3 separate regions of the Homo sapiens genome follow, and all the other regions are linked to region 2. The links are contacts of gene promoters, found by promoter capture Hi-C in blood cells and fetal thymus (Javierre and others, 2016). All regions are on one chromosome and are shown on one strand. Each heading gives the region's core, a stretch centred on a gene start or on the middle of the fragment in contact. The rest is flanking DNA. Distances are from core to core; before and after follow the strand shown.

Region 1 (3,213 bases), core at 337-2,836, 130 kb before region 2:
ATGGTGGTGGGTGCCTGTAATCCCAGCTACTTGGGAGGCTGAGGCAGGCGAATCGCTTGAACCCGGGAGGCAGAGGTTGCAGTGAGCCGAGATCGCGCCATTGTACTCCAGCCTGGGCAACGAGAGTGAAACATCATCTCAAAAAAAAAAAAATATGACCCAGGCATGGTGCCTGTAATCTCAGCATTTTGGGAGGCCGAGGTGGAGGATCACTTGAGCCCAGGAGTTTGAGGTTGCAGTGTACCATGATTGTACCACTGCACTCCAGCCTGGGCGACCAAGTGATACTTATCTCTACAAAACAAAAAACACAACAAAAACCAAAGGAAACAGGGACAGTGGAAGGTGCTAGGAGGTCTAATGGGCTTGGCGGGTCCTAGCTGTCGGCAGGGCCCTCTTGGGATTCTGCAGGGTGCCTAGCCAGTCCCAGCGGGGTGGATCCTATACCCAGAGTGTAATTGTCAGTGTGTGACCCTCGGGGAGGATGTCAAAGGTCCAGCACATGATTTGTGCTTTCCTCAGGGAGGTAACTTTGAAGTCCACCTGCCACAGGGCTGGTGCTTGGGAGGGAGTTGCTTTGCTGGGTAACCCCGCTGCTGCTATTGTCCCGCCTCCCCCCATGGGCAGCTCTCAGCAACCCTGAAAAAGTGACACTCAGCCTATTGCTTTCTGGGAATTGGCTCAAGAAGAAGGCCAGCTGCTGGTGCTGGTGTAAGAAATGAAGAGGAGCTGAAGAGCTTCAAGAGAGATGATTTGCAAGGCAGGAAATCACAATTGGGCTGAAGTAGGGAGGCCCCATCCTGTGTGGCTGTGGCTTTTGCCTGTGCTGTGAGCAGGGGCCGCTGCGGGGGCTGAACTCCTGGCTCCTTCCCTGGTGAGCCCGGGACTGCAGGGCTGTCAAAGTCTGTTGTGGGCCCAGGCCCGGCCTTGAGTCTGGAGGACTTTCCAGCTCACTGCAAAGCTCTCTGTGTGATATTCCAGGGCATGAGGGGATGTGCACTGTCAACAGGACTTTTTGAGTGCTTCCAATTCTGCTTCCTGATTTCTGTCATTGACAGTATGAACCAGGGCATCTTTGTAAAAAGTGGACACAAATAGTGTGAGCTGCCATCTGCAAAAGCTGGTGGCTACCTTTGCTAGCATCAGGAAAGGGAGGTGCAGCGGTAAACACACAGACATGATGGAGAGCAGGGTGCCAGGGATGTTTCTTTCTTTCTTTTTATTTTTTTTGAGTTGGAGTCTTGCTCTGTCACCCAGGCTGGAGTGCAGTGGCGCGATCTCGGCTCACTGCAAGCTCCACCTCCCGGGTTCACGCCATTCTCCTGCCTCAGCCTCCCAAGGAGCTGGGACTACAGGCGCACGCCATCACGCCCGGCTAATGTTTTTGTATTTTTAGTAGAGACGGGGTTTCACCGTGTTAGCCAGGATGGTCTCGATCTCCTGACCTCGTGATCCGCCTGCCTCGGCCTCCCAAAGTGCTCAGATTACAGGCGTGAGCCACCGCGCCCAGCCTCTTTTTCTTTTTTTTGAGACAGTCTCGCTGTGTCTCCCAGGCTGGAGTGCAATGGCGTGATCTCAGCTCACTGCAACCTCCGCCTTCTGGATTCAAACAATTCTCGTGCCTCAGCGGTAGCTGGGACTACAGGCATGCGCCACAACACCTGGCTAAGTTTCGTATTTTTTGTAGAGACTAGATTTCACCATGTTAGCCAGGCTAGTCTCGAACTCCTGGCCTCAAGTGATCTGCTGGCCTCAGCCTCCCAAAGTGCTGGGATTACAGGCATGAGCCACTGTGCCCGGCCAGGAATATTTCTTTAAAACACAAAACAAAACAATCTCTAGTGACACCTGAAACAAATCCCCACAAACTGAATTGTAGAACAGAAGTTTGGTGAAACAAAAGCTCAGTTTGGGGGCTGAAAAGTATCCTTCTCAAATGGGAGTCTTGGTGGAGATTTTCTAAGCTGTGTGTTCCCCTTGCTGGGAAACGGGTGCTCAGGGCAGGTGGAGGATTGGGGAGCCCCTGCCTTCCTGAGGCTGATCTGAGTTAGGCTGAACCCCCCAGTCAGATCTGGACTGAGGAGACCAACATCCCCTCTGGGCCAGCCTGGAGAGCAGGCAGGGTCCTGCATGCCCTGAGTCCTCTTTATTTGGGTCTAGCGCCGGAAGTTGCTTGTAACGGCAGCCAGTAAAGAGAGATGCCATCCCTTCTGTCCACAGGTATCGAGTGAACTTCAGACCTAGATATGTCACTAGGTATAAGACAGTGACACAGTTGGAATGGAGGTGCTGTCCTGGCTTTAGAGGGGGAGATTGCCAAGAAGGTCCCAAAGACCCCGTGAAGACCCTCCGCCCCACGCCGGCTCGGCCTCGAAACAGCTTGAAGAAAGCCACAGGTAACTTCTTATTTGTGCTATTATGTATGGCCACCTTTAATATTTCCGGTGCTCCTTCAAACAACAGGATTTGTGCTTTACAATGGTGAGCTTTGAATGGCCTTCGAATAACACACATAGATACCTGCAGTAGCCACATGTGACAAATTTATTCTCAGGAGCAGTAGCAATTGTAAGACAAACTTCCTTGCAAGTAAATTGCTTTGCTAGGGCCAGCTTGTTGTGAAAGCCAATGCCTTAAACATCAGGGTAGGAAATGCCAGTGGGTTCAGACTTGTGTCACCTGGAGGCACAGCTGTGAAGAGATTCAGATGTAATGATGTACTGTTTGTTTTTACTTGGGCCCATACATCTGAATTTAGGGGGGTTAAAATTGTTTTTTATTTTTTATTTTTTTGAGATGGAGTCTCGCTCTGTCGCCCAGGCTGGAGTGCAGTGGCGCAATCTCGGTTCACTGCAACCTCTGCCTACCTGGTTCAAGCAATTCTCCTGCCTTGGCCTCCGAGTAGCTGGGATTACAGGCGCCTGCCACCATGCCCGGCTGATTTTTGTACTTTTGGTAGAGATGGGGTTTCACCATGTTGGCCAGGCTGGTCTCCAACTCCTGACCTCAAGTGATCTGCCCACCTCGGCCTCCCAAAGTGCTGGGATTACAGGCGTGAGCCACTGTGCCTGGCCATCACTTCATCTTTTTAAGTTCAGTCACAATAAATGCAGCCTAGGTTTTCTTATGAAATTAGATGCTTAAATGATTATATTTTGCCATGAGGTGTTCTCAGGTTTGAAACTCGTAGTTCTTCCCAACATTGTCTGTAAA
Region 2 (3,155 bases), core at 52-2,551:
AGGATGCTGCAGGAGGACCAGCCCAGCACCTGTCTCCATCCCCTGCACTGTGTGGCCGGCTCTGCCGCTTCTCCCCCGCTTCAGCATCACCTGCCACTTCTTCTCAATCTGAAGCCACTAAGAACGATCAACACCAGACCGTTAAAACATAAACCAGTATGGGCCACTAAATAATTCGTAAATATTTCAAAATGTATTTCAAAACCGACTTTGTATTGTCAAAACATTATAATCTAGCCAGGCCAAGTTTTAATAAACAGTAACACCCATCATCACTACTGGGTAAAGAACTTCATTCAACAGGACCTACCTTGACACCAAGTCTAGAGCCTCGTTTTCAATTAAAAAAAAAATGGGTAAGCCCCAAATGTGCATTAAAAATTAGTTTGGCCATTTACTAAGTAGTCCTTCAAAGCATTTCCAAGTATTCAGAGTTCCAGTACTTTTCGGAAAGGAAGGGTGATCTTTCTGGTACTGGTTTGCATAATTATGCCTAAAAAATGTCATCTTGAATTTTCAATGAAAAGAGTCTTAAAATGTTCAGGCGAGTGGAGAAAATGGTGATCCGCTGGCGTTAGAAGTGGACAGAGAGGCTCTCAGTACAAACTGTATCTGAACGTGTTCCTCACAAATTAAGATCTGCACCGGGGGCTGGGGGGCTTTGAGAAAACTAACCACATTTGAATCCGGTCCACACAGCTTGAAGGCGGAGGTACGGGGCAAAGCGCGGCGGGGAAGAAACACCAGCAACTCGGCGGCCCCCGCCTCGCCGCAGATCACGTGCCCGGCGCCCCCTCCCGCAGGGCCGGGGGCGGGATGGAGACGCGGCCTCCCGCGCGCCTTCCGCACTCCCCTCCGCGCCCCAAACCCAGGGGTAGGGGTGGTCTCGGGTAACCATCCCCAGGGCGGCGGCGAGGGAACTGCGCGGGTTCAGAGTCCTCAGCAGCCACCACTGACGCCCCGACGCCCCCGGCTCCCCGCGCACCCCGCCGGTCCGTCCTGCGGCGGCGGCGGTAGGGGCCGCGTCTACGTGGCGCGGTCGCGGCGAGGCGGGGACTGGGACGCGAGGACCGGGAAGCGGGGACCGCGGCGCGAGGAGGGGCGGCTCAACCCGCGCCGCCCCGGAGGGTCCCGGCCTCCGGCAGGACAGCCCCGGGCCCGCGCCAAGGGAAGCCCCCAGGCGCAGACACTCACCGCCAGCCCCGGAGGGACGCCTGCGAGGAGCCCGGCCCGCGCCCACTTACCCACAGGGGCTCCGCTCCCGGCCAGCGGGCGGCTGAGGGCAGGCGGCGGCTGGACTGCGACGGCTAGGACCCGCCGGGGAGGGAAGCCGAGGGGGCGGGGCCGGTCGGGGGCGCGCGCGGGGTCGGAGCGCCCGCAGCCGCCGCTGCCTTGGAAGCCGCCTGGGCCGCAGCTGAGTCGGGCGGCCCTCATGAATGGGACGCCGCGGCTGCGGCGGCCGAGCCGGCAGCTGGCGGGCGGGCAGCGCGCAGGCCCCGCCCCAGCCACGTGACGCGCGCTCCCGGCCGCGCGCCGCGCCCCCGCCGCCGAGCGCCAGGCGTGCGGCTTCTCACCGCTCCCAGTCCCTGGGCTGCGCGCCCGGGCCCCTGGCCAAGTGAGGGCGGGGCCTCGATTTTCTAGTGCCTCGGGCGACAGGAGCCTTACTTTGTTTTAAAAAAAAAAAGTTTCTTCCGGTCCCCATGGCAACCCTGCGGCAGGTCACGTGGGACTGAGAGCCCAATTGCCAAAAAGGAATGTTAAAGTGCAAAAAAAGTCTAGGGAATGAATGTTTTATAATCCCCTTTTGATCACTAGTAGCACATCTCCTTTGCTTACTTACATCTCCACCGAAAAAAAAAAAATCCTATTACACAACTCATTTTTAAAAATATGCCGGGGTTCTGTTGTTTTTTGTTTATTCTTTTTATCGCTCTGTTACCCCGGCTGGTCTCCAACTCCTGGGCTCAAGCATCCCCGCACCTCGGCCTCCCAAAGTACTGGAATTACAGGCATGAGCCACCGTCCCCAGCATTAAAATATACTTTTTAAGAAATGGGTGGCTCACGCCTGTAATCCTAGCACTTTGGAAGGCCGAGGCAGGCGGATCACTTGAGGTCAGGAGTTCAAGACCAGCCTGGCCAACATGGTGAAACCCCCGTCTCTACTAAAAATACAAAAAACCAGCCGGGCGTGGTGGCGCGTGCCTGTAATCCCAGCTTCTCAGGAGGCTGAGGCAGGAGAATCAGTTGAACCCGGGAGGCGGAGATTGCAGTGAGCCGAGATGGCGCTATTGCACTCCAGCCTGGCGACAGAGAGACTCCGTCTCAGAAAGAAAAGAAATGGGGCCCGGCGCGGTGGCTCACGCCGGTAATCCCAGCACTTTGGGAGGCCAAGGCGGGTCGATCGCCTGAGGTCAGGAGTTGGAGACTAGCCTGGCCAACGTGGCAAAACCCCGCCTCTACTAAAAATACAAAAATTAGCCGGGCATGTTGGCTGCAATCCCAGCTACTTAGGAGGCAGAGGCGGTAGAATCACTTGAACCCGGGGGGCGGAGGTTGCAGTGAGCAGAGATTGCGCCACTTCACTCCAGCCTGGGAGCGAAACTCTGTCTCAAAAAAAAAAAAAACAAAAAAAACTGGATTGCTGGTGCTATATACTATTGGTGCACACTGGTTTTTAATTTGCAGCCTATTCTATTACTATTCTATGATTGAAAGTAATGAACAGAAGCCTATGTTACTTCTATATAAATGGCAGTTAATTTATGAGGTGCATCTTGTGTGTGATCATTTATACAGTTCTAAGGGTACTGAAATAGGCATTTGCATACACAAAGCTGCTCCTTGAAGGATCCAGCTGCAGCCCAGTTTCTTCCCACCAGTGCCTGGTGTAGCTGGGCAGTGCTTGGATTCAGGGAGCAGGCGACCACTTCTTCACTGAAGTTCCTTCTGCTTTTCTGTGAAACTCGATCAAGTTTTGCCCCATCTGTAATCAAGGCCCTACAGAAACATAGGTAGTTTCACTGGCACAAGACCACTAGGAATTTTCCTCATTTCACTGCTTCTCACTTGGCTTCACAAGTAAAATAAAAATTGAAGAGGACTAAAATATCCCCCTCCGTATTCAATGGATTTTATAAATATGGAGAAGAAAAA
Region 3 (3,230 bases), core at 304-2,803, 130 kb after region 2:
AAAATATTTAGCACTAAATGCATGCGTTATAAAAGAATACTTCAAATTAAGGACCTCAGCTTCTACCTTAAGAAACAAGAAAAAAACCCAGCAAATTAAACTCAAATAAGCAGAAAAAAGGAAATAATAAAGATAAGAACAGAAATAAATAAAACTGGAAACAGAAGAAAAATATAGAAAATCAATGAAACCAAAAGCTGTTTCTTTGGGAACATCAATAAAGTTGATAAACTTCTAGTCAGGTCAGGACAAAGGAAGTAAAACACGAATATTAGGAATGAGAGAGGTGACACCACTACAGATTCTGCAGGTATTAAAAGGATAATAAGAAAATATGAACAACTTTATGAATGAAAAAGTTTCTTGAAAGATGAAAACTATTAAATTTTACTCAAGAAAAAGTAAATAACCTGAATAGTCCTAAATTTATTTTAAAAATTGAATTTGCAGTATAAAAGCTTCCCACAACAAAACAAAACAAACAAACCAAAAAACAAACCTCCAGGCCTAGATGGCTCTGCTGGTAAATTATACTGAATGTTTAATTAAAAAAAATAATAAAAGTTAACACAAGCTCTTTCAAAAAATTAAAATAATGGTAATACTTTCCACTCAGTACCCCAATACCAAAACCAAACCAAGACTTTACTGGGAAAAACCACAGACCAATATCTTTTATGAATATAGACACAAAAATTCCTTTAAAAATTTTTAGCAAATAAACTCCAGCAATGTATAAAAAGGATAACACAGCATAACATAGTGACATTCAACCCAGGACTGTGAGGTTTAGTTTGCGTTATTTATTTTATTTCGGTTTAATAATCTAAAATTAATCAATGTAATTCAACATGTTAATGGAAAAATAAAAATCATACGATCGTCTCAATAGATACAGGAAAAGCATTTGACAAAATCCAACACTTTTTCCTAATATAAACTCTCAGAAAACCAGGAGTAGAAGAAATTTTCCTCAACTTGATAAAGGATAGCTATACAAAACCTACACTTAATGTTAGACTTAATGGTGAAAGACTGAATGCTTTCCCCCTGACATCAGGAAAAGGCAAAGATGACCAGTCTACCACTTCTATTCAACATTGTACTAAAGGTTCTAGATGGAGCAATAAGGAAAGAAAAAGAAATAAAAGGTATCCAGATTGAAAAGGAAGAAGTTAATTTATCTTTACTTATAGATGGCATAATCCTGTAATAGAAAATCCATAATAAATTTCATAAAAAACCCTAATGTTTGTGAGAATTAATAAATTAGTTCAGCAAGGATGCAGGACACAAAATCAATATACAAAAATCAATTGTGTTTCTTTATACTAGCATAAAAACAAATTAAAATAAAAAACAATACCATTTACAGCATCATCAGAAATATTATATATAAATATTATATATTATATATAAATATATATCTTATATATAAATATTATACATTATAGATAAATATATATATTTATATATAAATATTATATATTATAGATAAATATATATATTATATAGAAATATATATATATAAAAAGTCAGATACTCTAACTTTTTGTCAGAGTTTGTGCAAAAACAGAAAGGCAGTAAAGAAGGTAACTTATTTTCAATTCAAACAAATCTTATTTTGATTGGAATTGATAAAAGAGGAGCAAACGAATGTATGAGATTATATCTATAAAAATGTGCAGGACCTGCTCACTAAAACTACTACTAAGGTGAGAGAAATGAAAACAAAGCTAAATGAATGGAGATACAGGCTATGTTCATAAATCAAAGGACTCAATGCTGTTCGGCTGAAATCCCAGCATGTTTTTTGTAGAAGTTGATAAGCTGATTTTAAAATTTTTATAGAAATGTAAAGACAGAATAGCTGAAACAACTTTGGGGGGGAAAAACCCAACACAAGATTAGAAGACTTATACTGATTTGAAGATGCTAAAATTTATATATGAAAAAATGAAGCTCAGAAAAGCTATAGTAATAAAGACAGTATGGTATTGATGGAAGGGGAAAAAAATTGACCAATAGAGATTCCAGAAATTGATCCACACATATGTAATCAATTGAATTTGACAATGGTGCCAATACAAATTCGTTGGGTAAAGAACAATCTTTTCAATAGATATTGCTGAAATAATTTAATAGCCATATGCAAGTATGAACGATAGTAATAATTGAGGCCCTTACTTCTTGTAATGTAGAAAAAATTAATTTTAAATGCATCACAGAGTGAAAAGTAAAAACTAATGCTATAACATTTCCAGGGGGAAAAAAACAGGAAAAATACCTGGATTTGACAAAGATGCCCAATGTCACAAAAACTGGCAAATAAACACATGAAAAGATGCTCGACATTATGAGTAAAATGCAAATCAAAGCCACAAAGAAATACCACTATGAACCCACTAGAATGGCTAAAATTGAAAAGACTGGCCACACTAAGTGCTAGTGACAATGCGGGAGCAAGTGGAACTCTCACGTAGGGCTGGAGGGGAAGGGAACGTGGTACAATCATTTCAGAAAACAGCTGGCAGTTCCTTTAAAAATTAAGCATACACCTACCACAGAACACATCCATTCAACTCCTAGGTATTTACACAAGACATAAATGAAAGCATATGTCCACAGAAACAGTTAAGAATGTTCATAGAAGCTTTCAACAGTGAATGGATAAATACTTTGGAACGAATTGATACACACACCAACGTAGATAAGTCTCAAAATAATTATGCTGAGTAAAGAAAAACAGACAAAAATGAACATGATTCAACTGATCTACAATTGTGGACAATGTAAACTACAGTGGCAGAAAGCAGATCAGTGATGGCTGGAGATGGGGAAACATGAAAAGGAGGAATTACGAATGGGCAGGGGAAATTTAGGGGTGACAAATACGTTCATTATTTTGAAAATGGTGATGGTGGCCGGGCGCGGTGGCTCACGTCTGTCATCCCAGCACTTTGGGAGGCCGAGACGGGCGGATCACGAGGTCAGGAGATCGAGACCATCCTGGCTAACACGGTGAAATCCCGTCTCTACTAAAAATACAAAAATTAGCCAGGCGTAGTGGCGGGCGCCTGTAGTCCCAGCTGCTCGGGAGGCTGAGGCAGGAGAATGGCGTGAACCCGGGAGGCGGAGCTTGTAGTGAGCCGAGATCGCACCATTGCACTCCACCCTGGGCGACAGAGCGAGACTCCATCCAAAAAAAAAAAAAAAAAAAAAAAAAAAAG

The links. Contacts are between HindIII fragments. The CHiCAGO score rates a contact against its expected background, and 5 or more counts as called.
Region 1: a contact is called between a fragment that was not itself captured here and the fragment with the promoter of LPIN2 in region 2, in 1 of 17 cell types (activated CD4 T cells). The highest score is 5.1, in activated CD4 T cells.
Region 3: a fragment that was not itself captured here is called in contact with the fragment with the promoter of LPIN2 in region 2 in 14 of 17 cell types (naive CD4 T cells, total CD8 T cells, activated CD4 T cells and 11 more); the score reaches 20.9 in naive CD4 T cells.

The regions. Positions count from the first base shown.
Region 1 is chr18:2,882,744-2,885,956 of GRCh38, forward strand. EMILIN2 (elastin microfibril interfacer 2) reads left to right here. Exons shown (of 8, transcript NM_032048.3): 3 at 2,221-2,396. Among named protein-coding and RNA genes, the nearest start is that of EMILIN2, 37 kb to the left of the region's middle. The HindIII fragment of the contact is 6,579 bases long and covers 1-3,213 here.
Region 2 is chr18:3,011,843-3,014,997 of GRCh38, forward strand. It overlaps LPIN2 (lipin 2), which reads right to left and starts at 1,302. Exons shown (of 20, transcript NM_001375808.2): 1 at 1,245-1,302. RefSeq lists a silencer at 743-1,692. The HindIII fragment of the contact is 8,581 bases long and covers 1-3,155 here.
Region 3 is chr18:3,145,644-3,148,873 of GRCh38, forward strand. All of the region lies in intron 13 of MYOM1 (myomesin 1), which reads right to left. Among named protein-coding and RNA genes, the nearest start is that of MYOM1, 73 kb to the right of the region's middle. The HindIII fragment of the contact is 2,195 bases long and covers 457-2,651 here.